Regions from separate parts of the Homo sapiens genome. Here region 1 is linked to region 2. Evidence: promoter capture Hi-C in 16 types of primary human blood cells and fetal thymus (Javierre and others, 2016). All regions are on one chromosome and are shown on one strand. The core of a region is centred on a gene start or on the middle of the fragment in contact, and the rest is flanking DNA. Distances in the headings are between cores, read along the strand shown.

Region 1 (5,642 bases), core at 764-3,263, 150 kb after region 2:
CGGCACACCCCATTTCACGCTCCCTGGGCGGTGGCAGGGCCCCACGGCTATCAGCTTTCAGGGGTGGGAGGGACTGGGAATGAGGAGGGGTCTGCCCCACCCATGGCTCCCTACTCCCTCAGGGCTTGGTGGACTCAGGAGGTGGGTGCCACACACCTCTGGAAACAGCCCAGGAACCCTTGCCAAGACCCTCTGGGGAGGGGTAGTCAATCCCCCAGAGCCTAGACGCCATCCCTACCTAGCATGCTCAGCACCTGACTGGACTCAGCACCTAGGCCCTTCCCAGCCCTGGTAGACAGGGCCTCCCTGCTTCCATCACTAACTCCGCAGGGACACTGTCTCCCTGAATGTGGGCCCCACTTAGTCCGCAAGGCAGATGGGGGGATTAGACTAGGCCCAGCCCAAACAATACAGCAGAAAGGGCCCTCCAGCTCCATGCAGTGCCCCCACAAGCTCCCTCCTCTAGGACGCCGATGGGGAGAGCCAGGCAGGACGTGGACCCTGAAGACATGGCCTGCTCCTCTGCCTCCCCTCTGGTGGTCTCCTTTCCAGAGCAGCTTCCTCCCTTGTGCCCACGTGTACCAGTGGCTTAGCCCTCTTCCAGTGCAGAACACCCAGACCCCAGAGCAGGGAAAGGAGGAGGCAGAGGCCTCTGAGCAGGCAGCAGCCCAGGAGTCTGTGCCCCACCCTCCCAGTATCCCTGGAAGGAAGAACCGGATGGGATCTCTGGAGGGTGATTAGAGCTGGGCTGGTCCCTGTGCTGGTTCCCAGACTCCCACTGGCCAGTACTTTTGCCTCCTGCCAGGAAGTTGGTGAGGGGGAGGCAGCAGTATGGGTGAGTCAGTGATGACAGGAGCCCAAGGGACAAAGGTCATGGGTGGAGAATTGAGAGACATTGTTTACAGCAGTCCACCTCCTCCAGGAGGCCTTCCAATGCTAATCATCCCTGTGGTCCTAACCAATCTCTGACCCACCCTTTCCCTCTTCTGGTAGGAATTATAGCCTCTCACTGACAACTGTGCATCTGTCTGCCTTGTGACAGTGAGCTCCTGGGGTGCAAGAGAGACTGTGGTTTGATTGGGGCCCTACAATGCCTGTGACTATCAGCAGTGATAATCATTTAGCTATACTTCCTACTTTCAAAAACTTTTTGACATCTATTTTAATTAACATGTGGGAAAGTGCTTAGAACAGTACTTGGCACATGGTACGTGCAATGAGTGTTAGGTTTATTATTAATATTTTCTGCTCAGACTCACATTATTGTGAGAGACAGGGCAGATTTTGCCAGTGAAGAACTAGGGATCCAAACACATTGTGGTGGGGGGACCAGACCCTTGCTCTGCCTTCCTACTCAGTATGGAATCTTCCTGACTGGTGGGGCGGGCCGGACACGACTTGGGACCCCAGGAGAGTCAAAACGGCAAACACTTACTCGGACTAAGAGTGGGCAGCATCTTTGGGCACAGACTGTGAGAAAGGAGGTTTCAGAACCCATGGGCTTCTCCAGCCAGGTCTCCTGGGGCCAGTGGGGGTTGGGTGGGAGCCGGGAAGGGGCCTGGATTAGCCCAAACTCTCTTCAGACCTCCAGACCTGCCCCCACAAGGCGGGGCGGGCCAAAGGACCGAGTGAAGGCTCCAGCTGGACTCTAGGGAGTTACAAACTGGCCACGGGGATTAGCGAAGCTGAAAAGAACATTTGCCTAGGAAGGGAAAACGGGAAGTGAGAGGCTGAAGATAACTCTCCTGAAGTCTCTCGGGACCCACAGCAGACCAATGGGGGCCGGGGAAGGTGGTGAAGTCGGGGCATCCCGACAGGTCCCCCGCCCCAGCCTGCCCCTCCTCCCGCGGCCCACAGCTGAGGCACCGCCCCGCCCCTCACCCTACACTGCCTACCATTGGCTAGCGCCAGGGCCCCGCCCCGCATAGGCGGCCTGCCATTGGCTGAAGTCTTTCCTGTTTGCGTGCTTTTGGGGGTGGGGGAGGCGTCCCTCCCTGGACCCCGGCGACTTCCTCTCTCGGTTTGTCTGGGTCATCTTGTCTGCCCGCCGCTGGCCTGGCCCCGTCTGTCTCTCTCAGCAGCTGTCTTTCTCGCGCCCACTGGCCGGTCTCTCCTCTTCCCCGCAGTTGCCTCCTTCTCTGCCTGCCTGGGTGGCCGCCATGGGCCGGAAGCGGCTCATCACTGATTCCTACCCGGTTGTGAAGAGGAGGGAGGGGCCCGCTGGGCACAGCAAGGGGGAGCTGGCACCCGAGCTAGGTCTCTGAGGTGTGAGGGAGGCAGGAGGAGTGGACACGGAGGGGCCTAGAGGAGGCCCCTAGAGGGGCGGAGGGGCCGATGGAAAGGGAAAGGTGGCCTGTCCTCCCCTCCCGACACCAGGTCTAGCTGCGGGGTGGCAGAGGCAAAGCGGTGGTGAGGAAGGCTGGGAGGTGAGGGGCAGGAGACTGAAGCCAACCTCGTACTGAAGAGCAGCTGTCATTGCAGGGGAGGAGCCCCAGCCCCGCGACGAGGAGGAAGCGGAGCTGGAGCTGCTGAGGCAGTTTGACCTGGCCTGGCAGTACGGGCCCTGCACCGGTGAGAACCCACCCAGCCCCACGGAGGCGCCTCTCCCAGCCAGTCACCCACACGTCTCTGAAGTCACCCAAGCGCTTGCGTGACTCTGACCCTCAGGAACTGTCTCCCCCCAACACACACATTCTCCAGCTCAGACTCTACCCCACCCCCCACAAGTCTCCAGAGTCTTCTTCCCACCCTGGCAGGGATCACACGGCTGCAGCGCTGGTGTCGGGCCAAGCAGATGGGCTTGGAGCCTCCCCCAGAGGTGTGGCAGGTGCTGAAGACCCACCCCGGAGACCCCCGCTTCCAGTGCAGGTCAGAGACAGGCCGGGAGGGCTTTCAGGGGAGCCAGGGCCTTCTCCAGGCACTGTCACCCTGCTGTCCTGACCTGAGGGAGAAATGGATGGAGGGTTGGAAGGCCTTGCTGAACAGGCAAGAAGATTCTATGAGGTGCCTGGCTCAGGAGGACACGCCACTATAATAATTCTTTTTTTTTGAGACAGAGTCTTGCTCTGTTGCCCAGGCTGGAGTGCAGTGGCGCGATCTCGGCTCACTGCAAACTCCGCCTCTCGGGTTCACGCCATTCTCCTGTCTCAGCCTCCCAAGTAGCTGGGACTACAGGCGCCCGCCAACACGCCCGGCTAATTTTTTCTATTTTTAGTAGAGACAGGGTTTCACCGTGTTAGCCAGGATGGTCTTGATCTCCTGACCTCGTGATCCCACCCACCTCAGCCTCCCAAAGTGCTGGGATTACAGGCGTGAGCCACCACACCCGGCCAATAATTCTTACCTCTACAAGCTAGTGGGGGGCAAAGGTACACCCAGGACCCAAGGAACTATCTATTTAGAACTGAGGGGTTTCCCAAGGACTATGGGCATGGCCAAGAATAAGCTGGTGAAATCAGATCCAGGGACTCAACAACTGATTCTCTGTTTCTCTCTCTCTCTCTCTGGGGTATCCCTCCCTCCCACCCCATCTTCCACAGTCTCTGGCATCTCTATCCCCTATGAGGCACCACGTAAGACCTCCTGCCCTTAGCTCTCTTGCTCACCACCCAAGAACCTCAGGACAGAAGCGAGAGCCCATTGCTCCTGCTCAGCTCAGCCCGGCTGCGGAGGAACCCTTGGCAGGCAGAACCTGGAGGTGTCAGAGGCTCAACTCCTCCATCTAACCAGCAGGCTCCCAGAGTCCCCGGAAGAGCCTGCGCAGCTGAAGCAGAGTGCTTCTAGATGGAGAGTGGTCACTGGGGAAAAGGACCTGGCCATCACCTTCCAATACCTGCTGCCTGTCTCCCTGACCCATGATCTGGCAAGTTAGGCACAGTCAGACATGGACAGTTGATCCATGAGGAAAAGATGCTCTCCCACCTAAGGCCAGGAATCTGAGAGCAGGACTGGCTGAGCTCCCAGGGCAAGGGGTTCACTAATGCTTATCAATAAAGAATATTGAGCCTGGAATCCTGACCTTCAGTCCTTTACTGTGGCCCTGCTTTGACTGGCAGTCCCTAGCAAGTTAGGAGATGAGAGAGGCACCACTACAGCTCTTTTCCTTCAAGAAAGTCCTAGGCCGAAGAGGGAGGAGACAGTCATCTTGAGACGGATCAAGTCCTCGGAAGAGCTGAGCGACCTCTGGTGCCCCCTGGTGGCCCACAGGGAAACTACTCATGACTCACCTTCTGGAGCAGCCAGGGAAAACCTACCTGACTAGCCAGCCACCTGCCTTGCTAAGCGGTGCCCACCTCACAAACATGGGTGCTTTGCCAGAGAAGGACCCCTGGGGTCCATAGCTCATGAAGTCCAAACATATCTATACATTCCCAGCAAGCACCTCTGGCTTCCCACATCGGGGGCCACCTTGATCCAAAGCAGGGCTGGCGAGGGTCTCAACTTGCAGGACCTGCTCAGACATGACCATCATCTGAGGGGCTTTGGTAAGAAACTGATGGCTGGGCGCGGTGGCTCACACCTGTAATCCCAGCACTTTGGGAGGCCAAGGAGGGCGGATCACGAGGTCAAGAGATCGAGACCATCCTGGCTAACATGGTGAAACCCCATCTCTACTAAAAATACAAAAAATTAGCCAGGTGTAGTCCCAGCTACTCAGGAGGCTGAGGCAGGAGAATGGCGTGAACCCGGGAGGCAGAGCTGGCAGTGAGCTGAGACCGCATCACTGCACTCCAGCCTGGGTGACAGAGAGAGACCCCGTCTCAAAAAATAAAAAAATACAAAATAAAGGCTGGGCGCAGTGGCTCACGCCCGTAATCCCAGCACTTTGGGAGGCCGAGGGAGGTGGATCAGGAGGTCAGGAGATCGAGACCATCCTGGCTAACATAGTGAAACCCCGTCTCTACTAAAAATACAAAAAAACTTAGCCAGGCCTGGTGGCGGGCACCTGTAGTCCCAGCTACTTGGGAGGCTGAGGCAGGAGAATGGCGTGAACCCGGGAGGCGGAGCTTGCAGTGAGCCGAGATCGCGCCACTGCACTCCAGCCTGGGCGACTGAGCAAGACTCCATCTCAAAAAAAAAAAAAAAAAAAAGAAAGAAAAAAGAAACTGATGGTGCTGGGGGATGGAGGAGAACTGGCTGGAGCCAGAAACAATGCCCAGGGGACCCAGGGTCAGGGTATGACATGGAGAATAGAGTCAGTAACCGCTTCTATAGTGTTACCTTCATCTACTGTGGCAGCCCTCTATCCTGGGGGTAGATGGAGGCAGCACTAGTAAGTTCTTGGAAACAGGCCTAGAGGGCAGCTAAGTGGCCTGTGTAGCCCCCGTCTGAGCACTGATCATGTCTCAGGTACTTTAAATGTATTACCTCGAATCCTCCTAAAAAACCTTCCAGGTAGGTTTTACTGAGGGGGAACTGAAACTAAGAAAGGTTAAGTAAAGTTGCCCAAAAGCACACAGCAGGCAAGAGGCAGTGCAGTGACCAGGGGCCACTTGCATTAACCTCTTCCAGACTATGCCATACCTCCTGCCCAGCTGCTAAGCACTCACTATGTGCCAGGCACCAAAGGTCCCCTTGGGGTATTACTAATGGTCAGGAGATGGGCAAAAACAAACACGTAAGTTAATTATGACAGGTAGCAG
Region 2 (5,963 bases), core at 189-2,688:
GTGGCCCTCCAGGTGGCAGCACTAAGGACACCCCCCCACAACAAGAGTTAGCAGCGAGGTCCCCATGAGTCCCACCCATGACCTGCCGACAGTGTTGCCCACCGGAACTTTTGTGGCCCCTACCGCTCAGCCCTTCCCAGCACTTCTCCCACTTTGTCCCGAGCCTCCTTCTCCCCCAGCAGGGGCACAGGCCTGGCACCTCCCTGCCTTGTGTCCTGAGCCATAGTGACTCTTTTATCTGTGTGTCTTTTGCTAAATATGCCCTTTTTATATTAATAAAAGATGATTTGGAGTTGTGCTCTCAGCTCTGAGCCTTTCTGGGTCTGGTTCTTCAGCTAAGCCTGGGTGGGCCAGGCAGAGACAGGGGAAGAGGAGACTATGGATGGGGAGGGTGTGATTAAATGAGGTTTGACTTGCCTCTGTAGGCCATCAGCCTTTGGTGGGACCTGGGCCCTCTCCGCCCCAGCCGTGGCGCTGAGAGCCCTGGGCCTTCCTGTGGTGCCACCAGGGGGCAGCACAGGGCCTGGCTGCTTCCACAGCCCTTGGCGCTGTGGGCAGCCTGGGCCTGGAGGGCGCTTCCTCTGGATTGGCGGTGATGCCTGGCAGCATGGAAATGCCAGTTCACGTAAGCCACTCCCTCACACGCCCTAATGCCCTGACAACACCCCAGCCTCTGAATCAGCCCTGAAGGTCTCTGACTTCTCAGAGAGAAAGGGCACTGCTGCTTCCAGCACTTGGCCTCAGTGTCAAGGGGAGGGGCTGGCGGGGTGCTGCCGTCACTGCCCCAGCACCTTGTAGCAGGCTGGGTGGGATCCCATGAACCCAGCCTTGGGGTGCCTCGTGAGGCCTTTGCCCAGACTCCGGGTGGCTGGGTGACCGGACTTGTGGACCCGGAAGGCAGAGGTGGGGGAGGCTTTGTGGCACCATGCAGGGGCTAGCCCAGCCACTCACAGTGACAGCCCGTTTCTGCCTGGGCGTGTAGCTGGGTGACCATAGAGGCCTGGGGCCCTGGAGCCGAGCCCAGCCCTAGGTGGAGGCATGTCAGAGCCACCAGCTTCTGGCTAGACTGGTGGGGAGGCATTTCCTCAACCCTGGGTCCCAAATCTAAGGACTGCAGAGAGTGAGAAGAGGAGAGTGGGCCTGGGACCCCCCATATCAAACCACCCTGTGACTGCACACAGGAGGGCTGGGCTAGGGTGGAGATAGGAACTAAGAGTCTTTGGGGACCCCAATCAGCACAGAGGGACTAGGAAGAGCCAGAATTTAGGCAATGGCCTTTTTCCCACTGCCCGGGGGAAGGAAGGCAGGGGCCTCCCTCCCTGCCTCCTCCGCTGCAGGCGGGGCTGCCCGGACCCCGCCGGGGTGGGGAGGGCCAGCCGGGCCCAGGAAGGGGGCGGGGCGGCCGCAGTGACGCGGCGGGCGTCGGGGAGGGACTGCAGGGGCGCCGGCGGGCGGATCGAGAGGAAGGTCGGGGCCATGGGCCGGCACTGCGCCTCGGGAGGGTCCGGCCACCGCTGGAACCCGAGGCCGGGGCTGGGGGCGCTCCGGGCTCCGACCCACGGGCCGGCCGGCCCTGCCCGGGCTGGGTGAGGGGCGCCCGCCTCAAGCTAGAGGTGAGCCGGGGCGTCGGCAGGCGGGCCAAGAGCGCGGCAGGGGACCGGGACGCCGGCGAGCAGAGGGAAGTGGGGACAACGGGGCCTCTCGCTTGCTCGCGGGGTGCGAGTGGGGGATGGAGGGGTGCCTGCAGCGGAACCTCGGTGCCAGTCTGGGGCGCAGGTGGACGGAGCGGGTCTCCAGGGCCATGGCCCGTGGGATACCAAGTGGAGCCACTCTGGCCTCAGCCTGAGGAGGGCTCACCCCCTGGGAAGAGGACGGAGTGGCTGCCTAGGCGCGTGGAGAGCCGGCGAGGGCCAGGGGTCCAGGAAGGATGCTGGGAGGGGGAGGTCGAGGACCCGGCTGCCCAAGAAGGCAGATCTGGAGGGCGGAGGAGATTACCGGTCCCGGAAGGTAGGTTCGGGTGCAGGGCGTGGGGAACCCTGGCAGAGATGCTGGGCGCACTGGGCCACTCCGCGCAGAGACACTCGGGGAACAAAGCTCTAGGTGGACGTCCGAGAGTGGGGGACTTGGGACCCCGCCGACTCCGGGAAGGGGATGCAAGGGGCGGGTCCCCGAGGGGCCGGTCGCGGAAGGCGGGCCCGGAAGGAGGGGCCCCGGGGCTTCGGGGGCGCGCCCAGAGGGATGCCGTTTCCCGGGGTTAGGACGCGGTCGCAGCGGGAGAGGTGAGGTGGCCCTCCCGCCCGCCGGCCGGAGCCTGGCGCTCCGGGGGGCCCGCGTCAGCGCGCGGTTGCCATGGCGACGGGCGGGCGGGGGGCGGGGGCTGCGCGGAAAAGAGGTCAGCGCTCAGCCTCGCTGCGGCTCCCGGCCCCGGCGGCGCGGGCGGCGGTGCTAGGCTCGCCTCTGCCTCCCTCGTGGCGGGCCCGGACATGGGGTCCCGTGGCCTGAGTCCCTCGGCCGGCGCGCAGGGCTCGGGGCCGCGCGCAGCCTCCCCGCACTGACTGTCGCGCCGTGCCCTGCGCCAGGAGGAGCGGAGGCCGCGCGCGGCCCGCCGAGCGCCTTCAGGATGCTCATCAAGGAATACCACATTCTGCTGCCCATGAGCCTGGACGAGTACCAGGTGGCCCAGCTCTACATGATCCAGGTGAGGGCGGCGGGGAGAGGGCACCCGGGCAAGGGGTGGAGCCCTGCCGACCCCGCCAGCCCTGCCCCGGGGCTGGGACCGGCTGGGAGCCCGGAGGAGGCAAGAGAGGCCCCCCTTCAGATGTGGGAATGGGGAAGGACTGTGGGAAGAGGGGCAGGAGGGCCGAGTGGTGCTTCCCATCCGCTAAGTGCCCAGCCCTCCTCTGATCTCCTGTAATCCTCCTCAGGATCTGTAATCCCATCGGGGAAGGAAAAAGCGCCCAGGAGGCGGCAAGAATGAGGAGGGGGGCCTCCGCGGCAGAGGAAGGCGGGAGGGGGTCTGGAGAAGTGGAGGGTCCTGGCCATCCCTGGAGGTCAGGGAGATGTGGTGAGGACCAGGTGTCAAACCTGGAGCAGGGACAGGGCAGCAAGGATGGGAGGGCGAGGAGGCTCTGGTGTAGGGCAGTGAGAAGAGTGGGCCAGGGCAGGCCCTCAGCAGTGGCCGGGTTGGTGCGGGGCCTGGGGGAGTCTGCTCCAGATCTGTCCCCAGCACAGCAGGACCAGAATCTCATAAAGCAAGAGGGCCCGGACCCCGCCTCGGGCTTGAAAGGGCCATCTGAGCCCCGGAGCAATAGAAGGCAGGATCTGGGGGCTCTCAAGCTCTGAGGGGTGTGGCGGAGCTGGGATTGGGAGGCGGCCAGGGCCTCCCAGAGAGGGAGGGGGCCAGGGTCAGGGCCTCTGAGAGCTGGAGGCCCCTTTTCCTCTCCTAGTCCCTTCTTCCTTGCCAGCCACCCCGGCCTCCTTGCCACCTGCCAGCACATCCAGTATGCTCCCACCTTGGGGCTGCACTGGCTTCCCCCGGCCTTGAGCACCTCCTCCTACCTCACCTCCTTAAAGTCATGTTCAAGCCATGGTCACATTGTGTTATTAGCAAGGCCTTCCCTGACTATCAGATCAAAACTGCAGCCCCCAACCCTCATCACCTATACCCTACTCTAGGCTTTCTTTTCCTATAGCACCTAGCGCCTTCTAACACACCACATAATTTGCTTTTTCCTTTTGTCTGTCTCCTTCCACTAGAATGTAAGTTCCACGAGGGCAGGGATCTTTGTTCTATTCATCAATATATCTCAATTGATATAATCCCAAACACTGCCTGGAGTGGAGCAGACACTCAATGAATACTTGAATGACTCAACTGAGTGCTGGGTTGCAGACCCCATGCGGGGCTGGGCTGCATCTGTGATTCTGATCCCAGGGAGCTTTGGTGGGGCGGGGTCTGGTTTCAGGGAGTTGAAAAGGCTGGGACCAGGGCCCCAGAGCTGTGTAGAACACCAGGCTGAGCTGGGGATCCCAGATGCTAAGCTGGGGCTGAGCTCCCTGTCCTGCTCTCCCTTGGGCCACAGAAAAAGAGCCGGGAGGAGTCTAGTGGTGAGGGCAGCGGCGTGGAGATCCTGGCCAACCGGCCCTACACGGATGGGCCCGGGGGCAGCGGGCAATACACACACAAGGTGTACCACGTGGGCTCCCACATCCCAGGCTGGTTCCGGGCACTGCTGCCCAAGGCTGCCCTGCAGGTAGAAGAGGAATCCTGGAATGCCTACCCCTACACCCGAACCCGGTGAGTGGGTGAGCTGGGCATGGTCCGAGGCCAGGAGGGGAGCGGCCCTGGTGGGTACAGCAGTGAGCCTCACCCGTGCCTTCTGCCCAGGTACACCTGCCCTTTCGTGGAGAAATTCTCCATTGAAATTGAGACCTATTACCTGCCTGATGGGGGGCAGCAGCCAAACGTCTTCAACCTGAGCGGGGCCGAGAGGAGACAGCGCATCCTGGGTGAGGCCTGGAGCTATGGGGGGACCCTGGCGCCCCTCTCAGGCTCCTGGCTGCCTCAGTGGGCAGCCTCTGAGAAGTCCCAGCCCTCTCCAGGCCTCATGTCCTGTCTGCAAAAGGACGGGAACTGTCATCCAGTCCCAAGAGGGTGCCAGGAGCGGGGGCTCAAAGGGGCTGGCGCTGCTCAATGCTTGCCGAACTCCCTCAGACACCATCGACATCGTGCGGGATGCAGTGGCCCCAGGCGAGTACAAAGCAGAAGAGGACCCCCGGCTTTATCACTCGGTCAAGACGGGCCGAGGGCCACTGTCTGATGACTGGGCACGGACGGCGGCACAGACGGGGCCCCTTATGTGTGCCTATAAGCTGTGCAAGGTTGAGTTCCGCTACTGGGGCATGCAAGCCAAGATCGAGCAGTTCATCCATGATGTAGGTGAGCACCCAGCTGCGGGAGGTCCCACTTACCCAGCATGCCCCAGACCCCATGTTTAGGGCCAGGGATGCTCCCATCCACTGGGGACACAGAAGCAGAAAGCCATCGTTTCCATTTGAGGTGGGGAGCACTAGGGCAGAAGCGGCCGCACAGCCTAGCCAGGCATCCACAGAGCAGGAAGCTGGTAACATGATCTACAAGGTCCATACTGGCTCTGACATTCAGAAATGCTGCTGCTTCCATTAAGATTCTAAGATTCTCCATCATCCTATGAGTTAGATGAGACTTAGAGACACTCAGGAAGGTCACCGGCTCTAACTGGCAGCATGCTAAGGAGTGCAGGCTGAGGCTGTGACTCTGATGTCATTCTCTCTGGGATTCCCCACCTCCACTCCCAGTTTCTAGTGTTCCAGCCTTTGGCCCTGGTGTTCAGGAGCCCCAGTCCCACACCTCCCCTCAACCTGACCCCACCACGCCTACAATTCAGCCCTGCCTCAGTGCCCAGGTCATCTGCACACAGAGGGATGGTCCCTAGTTGGAGAGACCAGCGGCCTGGCTTCTGTCCCACTACTGACCCCCACCCCATGGTACCTCCAGCAAGGCACTGGCCATCTCTGCACTTTAAATTTCTCTTCAGTAAATGAGGAAGAGGTTGAGTCAGATATGAAGAGCTAATACTGACAGTGATTGCGACACACAGACCCATGGCTAATTACTTTTTGTGCAAGATCTCCCTTAACACCCACAACACCCCACCAGGTAATGACGATGATTATTCCCATTTTACAGGTGAGGAAATTCAGCTTAGAGAATAATGAGGACGCCTTGTCTTGCATTTGGAAAAATGCCAAAAAGCACAAATAAGAAAAATATAGCCACTACTAAGATTCCAATATATCTCCTCGCAGAAGTTTATAATTATCATTCAACCATCATTACTTTATTTCCTAGACATTTAAGAGTTTCTAACTTTTTCTTCTGCTTAAGATAAAAATATCCCAGAATGGGTATCATCTTTCGCTAC

What was found. Contacts are between HindIII fragments. The CHiCAGO score rates a contact against its expected background, and 5 or more counts as called.
Region 1: a contact is called between the fragment with the promoter of POLD4 here and the fragment with the promoter of PITPNM1 in region 2, in 9 of 17 cell types (total B cells, naive CD8 T cells, activated CD4 T cells and 6 more). The highest score is 7.0, in total B cells.

What each region holds. Positions count from the first base shown.
Region 1 is chr11:67,349,917-67,355,558 of GRCh38, reverse strand. It overlaps POLD4 (DNA polymerase delta 4, accessory subunit), which reads left to right and starts at 2,013. Exons shown (of 4, transcript NM_021173.5): 1 at 2,013-2,256; 2 at 2,482-2,571; 3 at 2,757-2,868; 4 at 3,540-4,787. The coding sequence starts at 2,160. The coding sequence ends at 3,564. The region is part of intron 2 of LOC100130987 (a long non-coding RNA gene); the gene reads right to left. RefSeq lists a silencer at 1,696-1,945 and enhancers at 2,126-2,175, 2,169-2,750, 2,751-3,333. The HindIII fragment of the contact is 23,887 bases long and covers 1-5,642 here.
Region 2 is chr11:67,500,838-67,506,800 of GRCh38, reverse strand. It overlaps PITPNM1 (phosphatidylinositol transfer protein membrane associated 1), which reads left to right and starts at 1,438. Exons shown (of 24, transcript NM_004910.3): 1 at 1,438-1,613; 2 at 2,580-2,698; 3 at 4,083-4,297; 4 at 4,388-4,509; 5 at 4,715-4,939. The coding sequence starts at 2,621. CDK2AP2 (cyclin dependent kinase 2 associated protein 2) reads left to right here. Exons shown (of 4, transcript NM_005851.5): 4 at 1-304. RefSeq lists silencers at 1,142-1,771, 1,982-2,141, 2,152-2,271, 2,352-2,451 and enhancers at 2,230-2,979, 2,980-3,729. The HindIII fragment of the contact is 23,305 bases long and covers 1-5,963 here.